Regions from separate parts of the Homo sapiens genome. Here regions 1 and 2 are each linked to region 3. Evidence: promoter capture Hi-C in human tissues and cell types (Jung and others, 2019). All regions are on one chromosome and are shown on one strand. The core of a region is centred on a gene start or on the middle of the fragment in contact, and the rest is flanking DNA. Distances in the headings are between cores, read along the strand shown.

What was found. The method cuts DNA at HindIII sites, captures the fragments that hold promoters and counts their contacts. A contact is called where the count stands out against the background at its distance.
Region 1: a fragment that was not itself captured here is called in contact with the fragment with the promoter of PCDH18 in region 3 in 2 of the 25 tissues and cell types used here (mesendoderm cells and thymus).
Region 2: a contact is called between a fragment that was not itself captured here and the fragment with the promoter of PCDH18 in region 3, in 2 of the 25 tissues and cell types used here (mesenchymal stem cells and pancreas).

Annotation. Positions count from the first base shown.
Region 1 is chr4:137,467,286-137,470,870 of GRCh38, reverse strand. No RefSeq gene overlaps it. Among named protein-coding and RNA genes, the nearest start is that of PCDH18, 63 kb to the left of the region's middle. The HindIII fragment of the contact is 4,226 bases long and covers 1-3,585 here.
Region 2 is chr4:137,564,610-137,568,384 of GRCh38, reverse strand. The region is part of intron 1 of LINC02172 (long intergenic non-protein coding RNA 2172); the gene reads right to left. Among named protein-coding and RNA genes, the nearest start is that of LINC02172, 21 kb to the right of the region's middle. The HindIII fragment of the contact is 4,174 bases long and covers 1-3,554 here.
Region 3 is chr4:137,530,988-137,534,667 of GRCh38, reverse strand. It overlaps PCDH18 (protocadherin 18), which reads left to right and starts at 2,174. Exons shown (of 4, transcript NM_019035.5): 1 at 2,174-3,680. The coding sequence starts at 2,580. RefSeq lists an enhancer at 2,146-2,265. The HindIII fragment of the contact is 2,929 bases long and covers 334-3,262 here.

The DNA of each region.
Region 1 (3,585 bases), core at 621-3,120, 63 kb after region 3:
CTGTTGCACTTCCAGAGCCTAGTAGAGGATCTGACAAATTGAACATGTTCAGGCAATAGTTGCTGAAAAAAATTAATAAATCAAAGAATATATCTTACCTACTAAAATAAAATTCTTAATTAAGAAATTCATAATTAAAGGATGTAGGGAAAAGAACGATGTGAAAGAGAAAATTGAGACATTTATCTTAAGTATTATTTTAACTATTGATACAGGTATTGCTCTCCTTTCATTATCTTTTTCTAAATAATAAAGTAGAATACTTTGTTCTTTGTTGCTTTCCTATTTGTACACATATGGATTTTTAATATTTTACTCACAATTTTACTATTTATTAGTAATGGATAATTCAGTTGATGTTTGGATGTTCTATTTCTAATCATACAGGTTCTACACCTATGATATATGGCACAAATGTTAGTTTACTTTTATATGAACAGATTTTAATATGCCCTCGCTTATAGTTTTCAGTGCTTTATAAATTAAGCTTTGGAAGAGCTCTGCTCAGTCCTCAGCAACCATAAACTAGAAACTAATCAGTAAGGATGTGTTAGTTTGAGTTTAATGTCTGCCACATAGCATGTGCCAGCAACTATTTTGGAACAACAACAACAGCACCAATTTTTGCAAGACTTGAAAAGCCAATGAGGAGAAATATCATAAGACCAAAAGGGAACAAAGAAAGAACAACATTTTTGCAGATATCATTTGGTTCATGAAGAATGAAACAGTTTAGTTCCTCAAGGCACTAAAATGTATAACTGATTAGGTTAATTCCCTCAGTTTTTCTTGTTTCCTTTCTACGTTAACAGTTTATTCTTTATCACCTGACATGATATAGATTCTACAAGCTCAAGATAGTTTAAAGTAGGAACCCATGGTTCTGCATATCTTTATTTGCTCACAAATTCTAATACCTATTCCTTGTCCACAGCAAGACTACTAGCTATGAGAATATATTCAAAATGGAAGAAATAGAGTGCAGATATTAAGATGTTTTCAAAAGAATGGTTGAATTCATTTATGATTTGGAGCATAATTTCCTTTGGAGCATTAAAATAGGAGAACACTCTGATTTTGTGAAGAAATTCTAAAAACAAGGAAATTAATATTCAAACTCATAGTTTCTAATTTAATTAAATATTAATTCATAGGGTAAAAGAATAAGTTATATTCTCTATCCATAAGAGATTAGGGATTTCTTTTCAGAAAGTAATACCTTCAGAAACCAAACAATAGAACAAAGTGAAAGTGACATAAAACCTTTTATGGACTGAATTTCTCAGAAAAGAAAAAACATAAATATCAGTTTGATTTAACTTTATCCATTTCATCATAGTGTTACCAGAAAGGGGTCCTGATCCAGACCCCAAGAGAGGATTCTAGGATCTCACATGATAAAAAATTCAGGGAGAGTCCTCAGTGCAAAGCAAAACCAAGTTTATTAAGAAAGTAAAGTAGTGAAAGAACAGCTACTCCATAGACAGAGTAGGGCATTCCTGAAAGAAAGAGGAGGAAGGCATCCACCCTAGGTCTGATACTTGTTTATATATAGGATAAAAAAATCATGGGGTGATATGTTCTGCCACAGGGCTTGTGGTAAGGTATTAATTTTCTTAATTACTCTATTTTGCAAGGATCTATATTATTATCTTTAAAGCAAAATTAGGAATATTCTGATCTCAAGATATCGGGATATTAGAACACTCCTAAGTTGGGTCTGTTTAGCAAACAGTATCAATCTGTTTCCTTAACCGTAAACATCTAGAGGCTAGGAATACCTAACTTACTGGGAATGCAACCCAGCAAGTCCCAGCCTCATTTTCCTAGCCCTCACTCAGGATGGAGTTGCTCTGGTTCAAATGCCTCTGACGTATTTCCCTCCTCCCTTTACAGGAGGGCTGTTAATCCTAAGCATTGCAGACCAATGAAGATCTGTCTTCTGTAGCTTCTTAAGGCTGAATAGGGGCAATGATATTCCTGCCTAACTATTGGGTCTCTTCCATTCAGGGTAGAGAGGAGCACAGTCAGAAAGTGTTGGTATGGTGAGGGTTGTTCATAACTTCTAGTTCCAACAAAAGGTGATATCTGGAAGATTAATAAGTGTCCAATTTAAGAAAGCACTGAGTAAGCTTATCTTGCATTTCTATACAAAGAGTACAATCACAGTGAAAGTAAAATAAGTAAAATCATTCCAAGCAAACTAAACAGGAAGGCTTTCTAAGAACTGGGCAGTTGTTGGAAACAAGCTGATGTAGGGTTGCTGGCTGATTCCAATATGTGTTCAGAATTAGAATATTGATCTAGAGTTTTACATTACCCATTTCTCTTGTTTCTTCTGAGCTGCAGTCAGAGATCACTGGTTGGTTCACTGGAATAAACAAGGTTATTAAATTGCATATTCCGTTGAACCAACCAGTGATTAGCCTAAATTTCAGAAACAAACACAAAAACAACAAATGAGACGAGAATCTAATAGTAAGTGTACCATAGTTTTTGAAACATAATTTCTCTCTCCAGCCTCCCATTTTTACTAAAGACAAATCATGGTAAGACCAATTTGCTTTATTATAATTGGCCTGATTATTTGTATAAAGTGAAGCAAGAATAATTATTTTTCACATAAGCTTTTTAAAGAATTGGCTTTGATGAAACTGTTCCATAGAAGGAATCTCAAATAAGACTTTTTTAAAGCCAAGCCCTGCCATAGGTCTGTACCTTCAAATACATATGAGTTGAGTAAACTCCTCTCCTCTTGAGGTCCCAAGATAACTTGGGGCTCCCGGGCCTGTCAAAAAGTGACATTCTTTATTTACTACAGGTCAGAAACCCTGTACAGGAATTCTGTACAGGGACTAGGTAGACAAGGTATGAGGCTAGTTTTCCCAAGAGGCTTTAATTGGCTTTGTCAAGTTTGATTCCTTAAAAGAAAGCATACCATTCCCCTCAAACTTTGGCAAAATAAGCAATTTCTCCAATTGTGTCTTGTGCAAAGAAAAAAAAATTCTTATTGCTCTTATGCAAATAACTATGCCATAAATTGAGAATACTCACAAATAGTTTCCAAATTCTGGAGAAATCAGGTAGAGAGAAATAAATATGCTCCAAACTTTGTTCACAGGAGTATACTTTACTCAATTGTTACAAGCTGTAAATAACTAAAAAGTTTCCTCAACTCAGAAAAACAAAACAAGGGATCAGCACTGTTTTAAGAAAAAAGTCAAAAAGATTACTTCAGTCTCCTATTAGTTCAGTCCATGTAATTAATTCCTGTTCTACTTGATAGTCATGAACATTTCAGGTCTTCATGAGACCCCTGAAAGTTTTTTTCTGTATTCTAATGTCACAATCTCCAAAGTTATCACAAATTTGCATTTAAGAACATCTATCAAATCCTGGTAGCTTATTGTAAACCACATTTGAAGAGGACCAACACAAGGTAATTGTCTGTGGATGGCAAAAACTTGTAAGACAGCCACAATTAAAGCCACAGTTGATAAGGAAATTTGGTTACTTCTGTGTCATACAAAATTTTACCTAACACTTACAACTATTAATAACATACGCTAAGCCATATTAGAATTA
Region 2 (3,775 bases), core at 218-2,717, 34 kb before region 3:
CCATCTGATCTTCAACAAACCTGACAAAAAACAGCAATGGAGAAAGGATCTCCTATTCAATAAATGGTGCTGGTATAACTGGCTAGCCATATGCAGAAAACTGAAACTGGACTCCTTCCTTACACCTTATACAAAAATTAACCCAAGATGGCTGCAAGAAAACCTAGCCAACACCATTCAGGATATAGGCATGGGCAAAGAATTCATGATGAAAATGCAAAAAGCAATTGCAACAGAAACCGAAATTGACATATGGGATCTAATTAAACTAAAGAGCTTCTGCATAGCAAAAGAAACGACCATCAGAGTGAACAGGCAATCTACAGAATGGGAGAAAAATTTTGCAATCTACCCATCGGACAAAGGTCTAATATCCAGAATTTACAAGCAACTGAAACAAATTTACAAAAACAAACAACCCCTTCAAAAAGTGGGCAAAGGGTGTGAATAGACACTTCTCAAAAGAAGACATTTACATGGCCAACAAACATATGAAAATAACCACAACGTCACTGATCATTAGAGCAATGCAAATCAAAATCACAATGAGATACCATCTCATGCCATTATTAAAAATTCAAGATGGCAATTATTAAAAATTCAAGAACATAGATGCTGGTGAGGCTGTGGAGAAATAGGAATGCTTTTACAGTGTTGATGGAAACGTAAATTAGTTCAACCATTGTGAAAAACAGTGTGGTGATTCCTCAAGGATCTAGAAACAGAAATACCATTAGACCCAGCAATCCTGTTACTGGGTATATACCCAAAGAAATATGAATCATTCTACTATAAAGACACATACACATATATGTTTATTGCAGCACTATTTACAATAGCAAAGCCATGAAACCAACAAAAATGCCCATAAATGATACACTGGATAAAGAAAATGTGGTACATATACACCATGGAATACTATGCAGCCATTAAAAGGAATGAGATCATGTGCTTTGCAGGGTCATGAATGAAGCTGGAAGCCATCATTCTCAGCAAACTAACACAGGAACAGAAAACCAAACACCGCATGTTCTCACTCATAAGTGGGAGTTGAACAATGAGAACACTTGGACACAGGGAGGGAAACAACATATACCAGGCCTGTTGGGGGTGGAGGGTGAGGGCAAGAAACTTAGACGATAGGTCAATAAGTGCAGCAAACCACCAAGGCACACATATACCTGTATAACAAACCTGCACGTTCTGCACATGTATCCCGGAACTTGAAGTGAAAAAAAAAAATAAGAAAAAATAAAGTTCTGAAAGAAGAAAAAAAATGTGGTTAAGTGGCAAAATAGGATTTCAATGGCAAAAGATAGATAGATAGATAGATTTTTTTTTTTTTAAGACAGAGTTTCACTCTGCCACCCAGGCTGAAGTGCAGTGGCGCGATCTCTGCACACTGCCACCTCCACCTCCCAGGTTCAAACGACTGTCGTGTCTCAGTCTCCCAAGTAGCTAGGATTTCAGGCCTGCGTCACCACATCTGGCTAATTTTGTTGTTGTTGTTGTTGTTTGTTTTGTTTTGTTGTAGAGATGGGATTTCACCATGTTGACCAGGTTGGTCTTCAACTCCTGACCTCAAGTGATCTGCCCGCCTCAGCCTACCAAAGTGCTGGGATTACAGCAGTGAGCCACTGTGCCTTGCCTAGATAGATGAATTTTAAAAGCCAAAGATGGAACCTAAACTGGTGGAGTATTTGTACTTACAGAAAATAAGCTTCAAGAGAAGCAGGCAAGGAAATAAGAGAAGGAGTAATATGGAAGAAAAGAAGAAAAAGAATGGTAGAAAAAAAAAGATTGTTATCAGAATTAATTAACGACTAAAATTTTTAAGATTAAAACTAAAAAGGGACTACTGGATTTGACAAATATACTTTTGTTCATTACACAGTAATCAGTTTTTACTGCTTATTTCATAGCATTTATTATTAAATTATTACTCCCATCAATATGAAGGAGATTTAATGATGGTTGAAAATAACAAAGAGTAAATAATCCTCTTATGGTTTTTTTCCCCATATTTCCTAAGTAGAGTGGAATCATTAGAGCAGATTCTACTTACCTTCATTAATCTAATTTTAGGAAGCTCTAAGGAAAGGGTAATCCATGTATGTAGAATAAGTAAGTTTTCGGTAGTGTGAATTCACTGAGATTTTTATATTGATTGGTTATATATTAAATCTATATAAGCCTATTATTCCATTGCTAAAAATACCCACACTGGGTAATTTATAAAGAAAAGAGGTTTTTAATTGGCTTAAGGTTCTGCAGGCTGTACAGGAAGCATAGTGGCATCTGCTGCTGAGGAGGTCTCAGAAAACTATGATCAGGCAGGAAGGCAAAGGGAGAGCAGGTACGTTACATGGTGAAAGCAGGGACAAGAGCGAGACAGAGGGTTCCACATGCTTTTAAATAACCAGATCTTGAGAGAATTCTCTCACTATCGCAAGGACAGCACCCAGGGGAAGGTGCTAAGCCATTCATGAGAAATTTGCCCCCATGATCCAACCAACTCCCACCAGGACCTACCTCCAACATTGGTGATTATATTTCAACATGAGATTTGGGCCATGACACGCAATCAAACTACATCAAATCCTATTTTCTTATAATTTTTTTGCCAATGTAATAGCTTAAGACACACTAGAATAAAGAGTAGTAAGAAAGCTCTAAGTCAAGAGAAACTCTCTTCATTAAAATTACAATGTTAGTCATCATTAAAACAATCTCTACTTGAATCTTTTCTATATTTCATAATTAAATGTAGTGTCCAATGTAAGCTTTTCTTTCTATGGTGGTGGTGGTTGTAAAGAATCAAATTTTATGTAAACTTGGTCAATAATATAATTGTCTCATTATACTATATTGTTTTGGCTGTTTGGCAGGATTTTTCTTCCCAAAACATGTATTTTTTTTATTTTCCAAGGGTCCTCAAAACATACTTTCTTTCAGAAAGTTACTATCTCCAGTTTGGTGCCCCTGTGTTACTAATGCAGATAAGCAGCTTAGAGGAATAGATCTTTTAGTTAAGTATTTTTTTAAAATATGGCTTATTTTCCCTAGACTCCTTTGGTTTATGTGAGAATTTGTATTGTTAAGATAAAATTGTATTCTATTATCTTCAGCAGATACCTTCCAAGACCACCTCCTGCAGTGATACCAAAAATGCTGGATAGTACCAAACTCTATATATACTAATGTTTGTTCCTATACATACATACCTATAGTAAAGCTTAATTCATAATTAGGCATAGTGAGAGAATAACGACAACAATAGTAAAACAATATTCCAGCATCACGACTCTTGCACTTTCAAGTTATTACAAGTAAAATAAGGGTTACTTGAACACAAGCACTGCGATACCACTAAGTCAATCTGATAACAGGAACAACTACTAAGCGGCTAATGGACAGGTTACTGCCTACAGGGTGGATATTCTGAGGCAAAGAAATAATTCATGTATCACGCAGGATGGAGCAGGACAGCATGGGATTTCATCGTGCTGCTCAGAATGCTACTCAATTTAAAGAATATGAATTGTTTACTTCTGGAATTTTTTATTTAATATTTTCAGACCTCAGTTGGCTGTGGGTAACTGAAACCACAGAAAGCAAAACCGTAAATAAGGGGGGAATACTGTCTACATCCCCCTAAACTGGTAGGCTTCTTTAGAAAATGTTCTAGCCAATGTTGGCAAACTAGGGATTAATGTTTTATACCATCCAGAATCTACATATTGATAATTGATATCTTTAGAATGAAGAAATGTAT
Region 3 (3,680 bases), core at 925-3,424:
CTCATAGAAACATATCATTTTGGAGGATATATTATTTTACAAGTTATTTAATATTTCAGTAAGTTACAGTGAAGCTCTTTTTCACAATGATTATTTCTGTTCAAGCCCACTGTCAGAAATAAAAGAGCTTTTTATTATTTTTACTTTTTAAGCATAAAAAAAATCCGTATCAAGGTAATCAAATCGATTGCTCTTGAAGTTTTTTGGGGGGTAGACTTATCAAATTCTGAAAGAAAATTTTCCTAGAACTAATGGAATTAGGTTACCTTTGAATTCTCACCCCAACTTTGAATAGTCACTAATTCCTTTCTTTGCTCTTTTGGTGTTTGCAAAGGGGTTCGCTAAAGCCTGAATTGATATAATTATTGGCTCAGATTGTTAGAGATCTAGGCCAGATGGCTATGGGTTTCTAAAGTCCCCCTTGCTTGTGGTAGTTTTCCTAGTTTGCCTATAGGGTTTGGGGATCAGCAATTTGAAAGGGCTACAAACTTGTAAAACAGTATTATTCATGGGGGCAGAATGTTCATCAGCGTGACCCAGTACTAAATACATTCATTATAGGCATTTCTATTCTGCACAATTTGCCACACAGCACTGATTTCAGGAGGGGGAAAAAAAGACAATGGCTTATAAAATGCTTTTGAATGCCTAAAAAGAAGGAGAATTCACGCTGAGACTCCTCTGCTTTCTTTTTTGGAAAGAGCCTTCTTAGTGACTTTAGCTGAGCTCTGCTGAGAGTAAGCAAAGTGGAAAAATCAGAAAATTACTTTTTTTATATGTTTCTGGGGGGCAAAATAGACAGTGAGAAAAAATAAATGGAAAAAAGTGACAATGACATTCTGTGAAACAGCAAATATGCAAGCGGATGAAGACAGCTGAGGAATAAGGAAAAAGGTATGAAAAAAAGCAGCAAAAATGGAGCCACGATGATAAACTTAAAAGGAATTGCAGAGCAGAAAGAACATCATAAATAATCATATTTTCAAATAAGAATACCGTATCAGTTTCTGTGACCTGGATAGAGCACAAGCCTCCCATGATATTTCCTAGCATTTTGATGCATACAAAATGCAATTTTCAGCTCAGGCATTTGATTTGTCAGTGTAAACAACCTTTGGGGTTTTTAAAATACATATCTGAAGTGTTTTCATAAATAATGCATATATTATAAAAATTTGACTTGTAAACTATTGAGTCCATGTCCCCCCTGTATTCACTGCAAAGACTAGCCATGTATAGATAGTGCCTTTTGGTAGAAATTGGCATGCTAAAGCTTGCAGTGTCTTTTACCCAAGATAAATAGGATTTTTTTGAAGTACAGGACAAAGAAATATTACAAACAATTTTGCCCAAACTCAAGGAAAGAAATCATACAAGGTAGAACTATATTGTTAATTAGTTCCAAATTCTGAGGTGTTCCCTTAAGTCTTGCTAATTAAGAGAAATGAAGAGTGCAAGATAGCCCTTTTTTTATCTTCAAAGAATAAAGATGAAAGAAAACAGAAAATGAAACCTCTTTACTTGCTCCGTTCTTTAAAAACAGAGCCCCAAGAAAATCTGCTTGTGCTCCTGGAAGGAGAAAGGCCCAAGTATTTACAGAGGGAGTGGGGAAGGAGGTGGTCTGAGAAGCATAATTAGAAGCAAGTTTTCAAATTGTATTAAATTCCTCCACCAACAAAACGCACTTAGAGGTATTTTAAGTTAAACTAGCACTTAAGGACTATGAAAAGCAAGATGATTACATGTCTGTGGCAGAAGAAAGGGCAATTAAGAAAACAAGAAGAATTTAACGTGCCATATAAATAAAGGCGACCAGAAGTTGATTTAAAGTTTTTCTTCTGTAATTTGTCTCCCCTTTGTCATGGCACGCTCAGAGAAAGTGAATGCAGTAGATTGAAAGGCGGAGGGGGAGTGGGGAGGAAGAAGGAAGGAACAGGGAAGGACTGGCTCCCATCTCCTCCCCCAGCCCCCACCAGCCCATCTCCCCTTCTCTCCCTCGCGCACCCACCCCCGCCTTCCTCCTTCTCCGTCTCTTTCTCTCTCCCACCCTCCACTCTCGCCCTCCCTCCTTGGGTGACTCCATCAGCTTTTGATTTGGAAGCACGCTGATTGGCTGGAAGCGATTCAACACACGCTGGGCAAGAGCTTTGTCTGAGTTGAAGTGAAGTTGTACAGATTTTAGACTGGAGTCAGCAATCACGGGTGTTTAGTCTGCAGCCGAGCAGCTAAAGGGAGAAAGAATCGCTCAGGAAAGACACACTGCAGACTCCACCGGCACCCTGCAATAGATGGATTCCGACTACACAAGGGAGAAAACGCGGAGGTGACACTCTCCTGCCTGGAAAGAGGACGAACGACCAAACAAACGCAAGGACTGGACTCCATGCCGAAGGTATCTGGAAGTCGTGACACGGTGTGTATAAAACAAAAGTTTGCGAGCTGTTAATTGCTGTGCTGTGTTATTAAGAGACGCTTTCAAGTTTCAAGTACCAAATGTAGCTTTACGTTGCCAAAGGAAGTTGAGGCAATTGCTTTGCTGTTTTAACTTGCTCTGTGAGGGAAATCTCATAAACTGACCAATGCACCAAATGAATGCTAAAATGCACTTTAGGTTTGTTTTTGCACTTCTGATAGTATCTTTCAACCACGATGTACTGGGCAAGAATTTGAAATACAGGATTTATGAGGAACAGAGGGTTGGATCAGTAATTGCAAGACTATCAGAGGATGTGGCTGATGTTTTATTGAAGCTTCCTAATCCTTCTACTGTTCGATTTCGAGCCATGCAGAGGGGAAATTCTCCTCTACTTGTAGTAAACGAGGATAATGGGGAAATCAGCATAGGGGCTACAATTGACCGTGAACAACTGTGCCAGAAAAACTTGAACTGTTCCATAGAGTTTGATGTGATCACTCTACCCACAGAGCATCTGCAGCTTTTCCATATTGAAGTTGAAGTGCTGGATATTAATGACAATTCTCCCCAGTTTTCAAGATCTCTCATACCTATTGAGATATCTGAGAGTGCAGCAGTTGGGACTCGCATTCCCCTGGACAGTGCATTTGATCCAGATGTTGGGGAAAATTCCCTCCACACATACTCGCTCTCTGCCAATGATTTTTTTAATATCGAGGTTCGGACCAGGACTGATGGAGCCAAGTATGCAGAACTCATAGTGGTCAGAGAGTTAGATCGGGAGCTGAAGTCAAGCTACGAGCTTCAGCTCACTGCCTCAGACATGGGAGTACCTCAGAGGTCTGGCTCATCCATACTAAAAATAAGCATTTCAGACTCCAATGACAACAGCCCTGCTTTTGAGCAGCAATCTTATATAATACAACTCTTAGAAAACTCCCCGGTTGGCACTTTGCTCTTAGATCTGAATGCCACGGATCCAGATGAGGGCGCTAATGGGAAAATTGTATATTCCTTCAGCAGTCATGTGTCTCCCAAAATTATGGAGACTTTTAAAATTGATTCTGAAAGAGGACATTTGACTCTTTTCAAGCAAGTGGATTATGAAATCACCAAATCCTATGAGATTGATGTTCAGGCTCAAGATTTGGGTCCAAATTCAATCCCAGCCCATTGCAAAATTATAATTAAGGTTGTGGATGTTAATGACAATAAACCTGAAATTAACATCAACCTCATGTCCCCTGGAAAAGAAGAAATATCT